Linked DNA regions of Homo sapiens: region 1 is linked to region 2. Evidence: promoter capture Hi-C in human tissues and cell types (Jung and others, 2019). All regions are on one chromosome and are shown on one strand. Each heading gives the region's core, a stretch centred on a gene start or on the middle of the fragment in contact. The rest is flanking DNA. Distances are from core to core; before and after follow the strand shown. Region 1 overlaps NAV1 (neuron navigator 1). Region 2 holds the start of ELF3 (E74 like ETS transcription factor 3).

What was found. The method cuts DNA at HindIII sites, captures the fragments that hold promoters and counts their contacts. A contact is called where the count stands out against the background at its distance.
Region 1: a contact is called between a fragment that was not itself captured here and the fragment with the promoter of ELF3 in region 2, in 2 of the 25 tissues and cell types used here (IMR-90 fibroblasts and adrenal gland).

Annotation. Positions count from the first base shown.
Region 1 is chr1:201,819,880-201,824,800 of GRCh38, forward strand. NAV1 (neuron navigator 1) reads left to right here. Exons shown (of 34, transcript NM_001389617.1): 34 at 1-4,921. The coding sequence ends at 53. The region is part of intron 1 of IPO9-AS1 (IPO9 antisense RNA 1); the gene reads right to left. Among named protein-coding and RNA genes, the nearest start is that of IPO9, 6.8 kb to the right of the region's middle. The HindIII fragment of the contact is 6,508 bases long and covers 417-4,921 here.
Region 2 is chr1:202,007,172-202,011,932 of GRCh38, forward strand. It overlaps ELF3 (E74 like ETS transcription factor 3), which reads left to right and starts at 3,416. Exons shown (of 9, transcript NM_004433.5): 1 at 3,416-3,535; 2 at 3,958-4,128. The coding sequence starts at 3,966. It overlaps ELF3-AS1 (ELF3 antisense RNA 1), which reads right to left and starts at 3,182. Exons shown (of 2, transcript NR_146472.1): 1 at 2,629-3,182. RefSeq lists enhancers at 1,014-1,655, 3,382-4,315, 4,316-4,761. The HindIII fragment of the contact is 15,952 bases long and covers 1-4,761 here.

The sequences.
Region 1 (4,921 bases), core at 2,421-4,920, 190 kb before region 2:
AGTCTCCAGATCGAGAAACCATCCTGGACCCCAACCTTCAGGCAACACTTTAAGGGTTCGGCAATCACTGTCACCCCCGGACAGCAGAACGCTGGCATCAGCTATCTTAGCTCCTCCTCTCCCCTCTCCTCTTTCAGAGCACTGGCTCTCCAGCCCCAGGAGGAGAACAGGAGGGAGGAGGAGATGAAAGAGGAGGGACAGGTTCTTGGTGCTGTACCTTTGAGAACTTCCTAGGAAGGAATGGTGGGGTGGCGTTTGGGAACTTGTGCCCCCTAAACACATTTACTGGCCTCCTCTAATGACTTTGGGGAAAAGATGATTCTGGGTCTTTCCCTTGACTTCTTGTTTCAATTACAAACTCCTGGGCTTTCTGGGGAGGGGTTCAGAAAACATCAAAACACTGCAGCAGTTCCTAAATGATTCTCACAAGCAACCCTGAGAGAGACAGTCTTGTGAGGGAGATCTGGGGGAGGCAGGAAGCTCCTCAGATTTTCTCACAGACCCTTCCCAATTCCATCACCACTGCCAACAACTCCTCCCCCAGAGATCTGGCTGGAGCCCAGAAAAAGAAGCATGTGGTTTAAAAAATGTTTAAATCAATCTGTAAAAGGTAAAAATGAAAAACAAAAACAAGCAAACAAACAAAAAACAATGGAAAAGATGAAGCTGGAGAGAGAGGAACCAGTTGCCAAGGTAGAGAGCTGCCCGCTCCTGCCCTCTGGATGACATAGGGGACATCAACAAGACGGCTGCCAACCTGAGAAGTCACCAAACCACAAAAATAACCTTACAGCCTTCAGGGAAAGACTACCAGCTCTGTCTTTCTACCCTCTAATTTAACAATGCATAAGAGTCAATAAACCCTACTTTTTTATTTTTGGTTTTTATTTTGTTTTCATTTTTTTCTCCCATTTGCCTATTTATTTTTTTGTTTCCCTTTTTTTTTTCTTTTTCCGTTTTTCCATTTCCTCACATGTCCACGAGATGCTTGGGTTGCTTTTCCAGGGGCTAGTTTGGCTTTTCCAAGTGGGTTTTCTTTGGAGAATCTGATGCCATGCAATTGGCATGACACCTGCCATGCCACTATCTTTGGCATCCATGGGGCTTATATGAGACATGAAGCATTGGCTCAGAAGTAGAGGGAGAAGAGGAACCCAGTTCCCTTGACTTCCCTTTTGAGAGCACACGTTCTGCTGGGTAGCTCAATTGCCAGCCTCTGTCATGAGAAGGTATAGCCCCATCTTGATAGAAGAGTTACTCCGAGCTTTATCATGGACCAGAGGAAAACCAGAAAACTGAAAACATTCCTCTGTCTTGTGGCCAGTTTGGCCTTTCACTGCACTATTCTGATGGTGCCTGACTGAATCCAAATATCCTAGCTGGCTCTTACTATTTTTCACAAATGAGTATTCACATATAAGAGATGAACATCCATGTGAGATCATCCCAATCAGAATATAAGACTCAAGGAGTTTGACTTGGTGGCCAATACCTGCCTTCCAAAGAGATCCTACCTTTGCAGATTTGCTCCTTTCCCATTGCCTTGAAGGTCTGGCAATCCCTGTTCTTTCATTTGACAAGTACTTACTGAGTACTCACTATATACAAATCATTAGGTTAAAACAGACACACACACACACACACACACACACACACACACACACACACACACAAGACCTGGGCCCTTAAGTTTACAGTCCAGCAGGAAATGTTAACCTCCATTCAGCTACGCCCCCTTGTTATCTAGACCTTCGGGATCATCTAAGAAATGTAGCTGAAACCCAAGGAGCCAGCTAGAAAGAAGCTTTTGATTAGATGTACAATACATTGGGGGCAGAAGATCTGGGATCAATTAAGATGGAGCCTGAAGGACTATGGAATCTTGCTTGTCAGGAATGGGCAAGTCTACTTCCTGCCATTTCTGAAAGCCCCGCGGGACCAGCTTCTAGGCTGAGCTGCCTAGTAGGCTGAAGCTTCAGGACTCTGCAGGTCAAGGATATGTGATGAGCACCGGCCTAAGTGTTTGCTCTTCAGATTCCTAAGTAGCACAAGACTTTATCAGAATCTATAGGCATACCAACCTGGATCACTCTTCCACCCAACCGAGGAGTAGATGCATCTGAATCTTCATATCGGTATATTAAGTCCAAAAGATGGTCCGGGCTGCCCCTCACAAAAGCTTCTGCATCCACGTGGTAAGCTCCCATGGATGACAGGGTTCTGTATGATGGAGACTATTATTGCTATTGCTGCTAATTCCATGAGCTGTGAAGATCCCTAACCAACTCAGCTGTAACATATGCAATTCTGTGGTGGGAAGAGGCTGTGTGTCCAAGGATGGTGCTGAAATCACTGCCTTAAGGTCTCTGCTGTGCAGAATGAGGAGGCCCCCGAGCTGGCTGTTCTAACTTAGAAGGAAGAGAAGACTGGATGGGCCTGCTTGGGATCTAGGCCTCTTCTAAACCCTATCCTAAGCTCCAGTTCCATGGCAAGGCTCAGACTTTTAATGCCATCTTAATCTGATGGTTGAGCGCTTCACTCTATTTTCTGGTGCTGCCCAGCCAGTGCCTTCTGCCATGGATGTTACTGGCTACTTGAGAAAAAGGAGAGGGGAGAACCCCTTCTTTCATTCCAACTGCCTCCGACCCCAAAGGGATTCTTGGCTCTCTGGTAACCATGGATACCACCATGAATTTTATTTGGATCCTCAGCAGGTTGATTCTGGAGGCCTCATGCTATGACTTTTTATTTCTCTTCCTGGGATCCACCACCCTCTACTCTCAGCTGACTGCTGCATTTAGGCCAGGTCTCCAATTGCTTTCCTCCAGAAAGTGTGTTCCCGTCTAGTGAGGTAGTATTGAAGCCTCGGCTTTCCCTCTGGAGCCTGGGACCCTGTTTACAGTTGCACATCTGGGCCCCTCACTGTGGGGATTGATCATTCTCATGAAGGAATCACAGTTATATGGCAACTGCAGAAGGCTGAGCCTCCTCATGGTGCTATAACCCCTTGGGACACTCATCCAGACTTCTCTGAAGCAGAAAACCTGAGCTCCCCACTCACTGCCCTAGAATTTATGGCAAGGAGCAAATCTACAGCATTCTCTCCCACCTACGTCCTGCTTCTTGGTTGAGACTACTGGGATCCTTCAGAAAAGAAACACTGGGTCCCATAGCTAAATTCTCAACCGCCAGGCACCTTCAGAAGAATCCAGCCTAATACTGGAATTTGTGCTATTATCTTCCTCTCCAGCCCCCCAACTCCATCCCTCACCACAGTTGTCTAGGAAATGACATGAATTCAATATCTAATGTCAACCAATGGGGAGAGCCACAACTCCAGGAGAGGTTCCTGAGCTGAGTCCCTTAATTTCTGGATGAAGAAGACCAACAAGTTTTGTCCAATGTATTTGTTTCTCAGACCTTGCCTAGGCACTAAAAATAAAATACTAGGTCATTGGAGGCTAATGTGGGACCTGATGTCTGCGTGTGTGTGTGTGTGTGTGTGTGTGTGTGTCTCCCTCTCTCACACACACAAGAGCAGTTTGCTGTTGCTGTTTCCTACCTTCTGAGGCTTCAAAGTATTTTTTAAAATCTATGCTTTGTGGCAGCTCTACGGTGCTTATCTCTGTCTTTGTGTCAATCCTTAAGTACCCATGTCTTTTTCATGTCTAACCATTGGGAAGGTAGAGGCTGGCAGGGAAGACAAATCTGCTACAAGTCCATGGGAAGACCCTACAATGAAATGTTCATTGGTTGGTATACTGTTTTAGTCTTGAATTGCCAACTTTCCAACTGATCTATCCATATTCCTTAAGTACTAAAGACAAAATAGAGGGCTTCTTTTTCTCTCTTAATGTCTTGCCTTCTGGTTTTCCTGGTTTGCAAGACTAAGTGTACCTAATCTCACCATCTCTTCACTTCTAGCTCTCTGAAACAAGGGTCACACTACTCAGAGGGATAACCCCTTACAGTGGTCTGAGGAGTAACTATTTCCTAAAGTATTCTAAAAGAGTAGGAAGAGAGAAATGGTAGCCTGCTGCTTCTCACAGACACCTCACATCCTCACTTGGGATGGCATCCACATAGAAACCCTGCATTTAGGTAAAATTTGCCTGACTGAAGGGGACTCAGTCCTCCAAATCAAGGTCAAGAAGATATCTGCATGAGACCTTAAGAACTCTTTATTGCCATTATTTGGAGAGGGCGGGGGAATTGTCCTAATCACACATTTAACACAGGGAATAAGTGCTGAAGTGACCCAGATCACCAAGCGCAGTTCCTCATCATACTTTATTTTTGCTTTCCTTATTCCTTGGCACTGACTAAGCTAAAGTTAAGAAGCCGACTTCATAAGCCAACCCCTGTGATGGGATGGAAAAATGGGCTTTTGCAGAGGGTTTATTAATAGAGATGGATATACTACTCACAAGTTCTGGCTCATGGCTCCACTGAGAAGGCCATAGTAATAAAATGATCTTATGAACACTGTTCCCCAAAGGCCAAAGCCTGAAGATATTGCCCCTTATAATCCAATCAGCCTTATATTTTAATAAGTCCTGAATCAACCTGACTACGGATATATGGGGCCACCAGGGTGCATGGGTGCATGTCTGCTCAGCCTAGCCCTGGAAGTGAGCACTGCCGGCCACAGATCCTGGGAAAGGTGGTAGTAACCCAGAAGATGTAGCCTTGAAGGGAGGATACCTATCAAAATGCCAAAGCTGCAGGGACACGAAGACGGTTGAAAATTCAACCTGTGTATACTAGATCCTTCCAGTTTGATGGTTTGGTCATTCTTCTTCATGATTATACCATGGAGAATTTTCTGTGACAAGGGTGGTCATGGAAGTAAGTGAGTGATCCCCTGGTTTCTCATTCCTTAAAGCAGTGGTTCGCAAAGTATGGCACAAGACCAGCAGCA
Region 2 (4,761 bases), core at 2,166-4,665:
AATTCTGATTTCCTGGCCTCAACATGGGGACCTAAACAGTTAGCAATCTGGGTTTGGGAGTGGGATGAGGGGAGGGTTGGAAGAAATATTTAGTGTGTTTCATTTGCCTTTCTTAAATACAGGGCACCCCTGAAACAGGCTTTGTTCGCAGCTCTGCTCTGTCCTCGGATTTAGGTTATCGAACAGGCTTCCTCCCTCCCCTGCACAAGGGTTGGGAATGAGTCGATTTGCTTTCACTCAGCAAGAGCAAGGGACTAGTGGTGACCAAGTGGTAGACTGGAGAGGCCTCTGCCCCGTGGCACACAGCTCCACCATCAGAGAGGGTGATGTGGGTCATAGGTGAGGGATCTGGAGGCCCGGTATCGGAAGAGCTTCTCCAGGCACTGGCATTTTGACAGCAAACTGCTTCCGTGGCTCTTTCAGGACTGTTCCTGGCAATATGTTATTGGCAAGGACTATTTTAGGGCTATCCAGTTGTCTCCCCCTCTCCCCAACCTTTTATCTAGCTTATCAGTAGCTATCTTTCCTTGCTCTGTACAAAAACCTATAGCACCAATAGGCCCAGTAATCATGAAGGGTCAGTGCAAGGAAAGGCTGGAAGCCCTTCCTCTAACAGCCGTGCTGTGACTCCACTAACTTTGTGGGGTCTCCCATTACATAGCGTGGGTATCCTGAGCTGTGCAGCCTGCCTCACTCACCACCTTGGTACCTGACAGGACTACTGGATGTGCCTGTCCTTTTGTAGGACATTCTCCCATCCCAAAGATGAGGCTGTGCTGCCGTGTGGGCAAGCTCTGTGGGGAGAGGGGAGGCCAGTGGGTTGTTTTTGCCATCACAGAATACTGGGAAGCCCCTGGCATCCTGCTCCATAGCTCTCTTCACCACTATCCTGGAACCTTCTCCCCACCCCCATCCCCATGCCTCCAAGGCACTGACCTCAAATCCAAGTCTTTCTCACTTATCTCAAGCTGCCAGCCTGTAGGGATTCCTTATCTCAGCTCCATGTCAGCGGTGAGGAAGCCCCAAGAAGGCAAGGGAGCTGACAGCCTTCTCATTTTTCTCGTACATCCTCCTGTTCACCCCGCCATCCCGGGAGCCCCAGCCAGATGCTCTTCAGGGCAGGGAGCACGTGAGCAGCCCTGGGGCTAGAAGCCGGTTCTCCCACATTCCTGGGTGAGGGACTGGGTGGAGGGTGTGCCTGCCTCAGGCTCCTTGGGGGAGGCCCCCTGAAGGGCTGGGGAAAATCCTACTGAGCCCCAGGCTCTCCTGCCTGCACTGGCCCAGTGCGGGGGCGGGGGGGCGGGGGGATCCTGGACATTAACTCTCTCCTAGGCACCTGGGAGCTTCAGAGAGGAAGAAGGTAAGGTAAGAAGCAGATTCTCTGCGCAGGACTTTCTTAGTCCTCAGGCTATAGAGTTAAAGAAAGAAGTATCTGTAGAAGGTGGAGTCACCTTTTGTTTGAGTAACCGTTTCACCCACCCTGGCTGAGGGTGGCCAGGAACTCCCCAAGTTGTGCATTAATGGAGGGGGGTCACACAGATCCTACATTTTTTTGTTTTTGTTTTTTTTTTTTTGAGACGCAGTGATTACAGGTGTGAGCCACCGGATCCTACATTTCAAATGCATAAAAATCTAGATATGGGCTGGGCGCAGTAGCTCATGCCTGTAATCCCAGCACTTTGGGAGGCTGAGGCAGGCAGATCATGAGGTCAGGAGATCGAGTCCATCCTGGCTAACATGGTGAAACCCCGTCTCTACTAAAAATACAGAAAGCCGGGCATGGCAGCGGGCGCCTGTAATCCCAGCTACTCGGAAAGCTGAGGCAGGAGAATCGCTTGAACCCAGGAGTCAGAGGTTGCAGTGAGCAGAGATCACGCCACTGCACTCCAACCTGGGCGACAGAGCGAGACTCCACCTCAAAACAAAATAAACAAAATACTAGATCTGGAAGAGATCTTAGGGATTATTAAATTCAGACAACCTCATTTTTTATAGATGGGGAAACAAGCACAGACTCCAAGGGTCTCATCCAAGATCACACAGTTGCAGATGCTGGCTACAAGTCTCCTGCCTCAACCACCTGTATTACCCCATTCAGGGTCTCAAGAAGGGTCTATAAGACACTATCCATTGTGTTTCGGGCTGAGTCCATAGAGACAACCACAGACATGGGGGACTCTGCCCACAGGGAAGGCAAGGGCTCTGGCCATGGAGCTGGATGGGAAGACTCTGAAGCCCGAAGACATTGAATCCTGTGCAGGGAAAGAGCGAGGGTTTTGTGTACAACACACCTGCATACCTGGATGTGAATCTCAGCTCCACCCCTTCACCAACTCTGTGTGGCCTGGGCAAGCCATTCTAAGGGAACCCTCCACACTGCAACTTTCATGTCTATAAAATGGGAATAACCATGCATTCCTTACAGGACTTTTTTGGTGTGAGGATTAAATGAGAGAATATGTTGAAAAGTGCTTGGTAAATATATTAATACTATGCATTCCCTCTTCTTTGAATGACGTGACCCAGGTAGTCAGGCTTCTGACCACTAGAGGGCAGCAGAAGGTACTGGAAAACTGGGCCGAGTGAACCAGAGATTAGATGGGGTCCAGAGAGCAGGGATGAACTTACCCGTGTGGATTCTGGCAACTCCGGCAGGGAGGGCTCCAGCAGGCGCTGAGGGAAGAACTTTCAAGCAGAGCCGGGTCTCTTCAGGAGCGACTGCAGCAACCCTGATGCTTGGATGGAGTCCAGGCAGGTGATGGTAGTGAAGACCTTGCCAACAGAGTGGGCGCTGGAGAAGGAGCCCTTTAGTGGGGACCCTGGGGCCACGACTAGGCTGGCAGGCCCAGCCAGCACCAATTAATCCATGAGTATTGCCCAGCATTGAGCCTGGAGCACCTTCCAGCCCCTGGCCAGAGTCCTGGGTGTTCTGGGAAAAACCCCTAAACCTAGTAACTCCTCTCCCTACTAGGCCTCTTTGTTGCTGAATCTCTGGAATTTAGGGGCCAGCAGCTTTCTGACTCAGGTCAGCCAGGGGTTCATGTTCCCTCACTTGCCCTCCCCCTGCCTGGCCCATCTCTGGCCTGGCCCCTGGGAGGAATTTCCTGGGCCAGAGGGCAGCCGAAAGCACAGATGCCCACCCCAGCAACGTTCCCGCCACCTGCCCAGGCCAGTGCCCCGTGCCCAACCCCAGAGGGTGCGGGATGACAGACTCTGACAATCATTAAACCAGCCGGGCCTGATTTCCCAGCACTGCCTGCTAAGATCCGGGCCAAGTGGCACTGAATATGCAAATCACCTGGGGCCAGGAGCCCAGTCTAAAGGCCAGGAAATCCCCTCCATCCAATGAGACACCAGCTCAGGTTACTGCAGGGGACACACTATAAAGCCCTGAGCTCAGGGAGGAGCTCCCTCCAGGCTCTATTTAGAGCCGGGTAGGGGAGCGCAGCGGCCAGATACCTCAGCGCTACCTGGCGGAACTGGATTTCTCTCCCGCCTGCCGGCCTGCCTGCCACAGCCGGACTCCGCCACTCCGGTAGGATTCCCCGCCTGTCATTCCCTAGCCCAGCTCTTGGGAAACTGCAGAGGGGTCCAGAGGATTTGCAGTTCTGAACCTGCACACTCCAGTCTAGGATCTCCGAGCAAGAGCGTAGGTGTCCTGAGGGTCAAAGAACAGAGAGAGATTGTCTCTGGGAAGGCAGAATGGCCATGACGCCGCTAGTCTGGCTCCAGGGCCCCAGAGATCTGAGGAGGGAAGCCCAGCTGGAGGCTCCTGTGGTCCTGCCCTGGTCTGAGATCTTGGAGCCCTTCTTGAAGAGACGGTGTCCGCAGAGTTGCTGATCTTCCTGCCCCTGGGGGCTACTCTTGCCCAGGGTTGGGCAAAGCAGAGTAGCTGGGAGTGTAAGGAGAGGACCCTCGTCCCCTCACCAACCTCATCCTCTCTCCCCCTACCCACAGGTAGCCTCATGGCTGCAACCTGTGAGATTAGCAACATTTTTAGCAACTACTTCAGTGCGATGTACAGCTCGGAGGACTCCACCCTGGCCTCTGTTCCCCCTGCTGCCACCTTTGGGGCCGATGACTTGGTACTGACCCTGAGCAACCCCCAGATGTCATTGGAGGGTACAGGTGGGTCTCAGCGGGGTGGGATGGGGCACGGAGTGGGAGACAGATCCATCTAAGGGCCTGTTAGACAAATGGGGGAATAGGCAGGGAGGAGGGTCTCTAGGCAAATTCCAGGGCTAGAGGCTGAGACTTAGTGACTGAGGTGCTGGGGGTTGTGGGGCTGTGACAGGCAGAGGGAGGTGTCAGATACCAGGACAAGGGTGTTGTGAATGCTACCTCCTGCCCCTACTCTTGGGATGGCTCCAAGGGCTGAGGTGTGAATCCCCAGTGTGCTCCAGGAATGGGGCTGTGTGGGCTGGGAGTGGTGGCTCACGCCTGTAATCCCAGCACTTTGGGAGGCTGAGCTGAGCGGATCACCTGAGGTCAAGAGTTCGAGACCAGCCTAGCCAACATGGTGAAACCCCGTCTCTACTAAAAATACAAAAAAAAATTTATCCCAGCGTGGTGGTGGGCACCTATAATCCCAGCTACTGGGGAGGCTGACGCAGGAGTATCGCTTGAACCTGGGAGGTGGAGGTTGCTGTGAGCCGAGATTGTGCCATTGCACCCCAGCCTAGGTGACAGGAGTGAGACTCCATCTCAAAAAAAAAAAAAAAAATGGGGCTGTAAGGTCTGCTGGGTGGCCTGAGCTGAGCC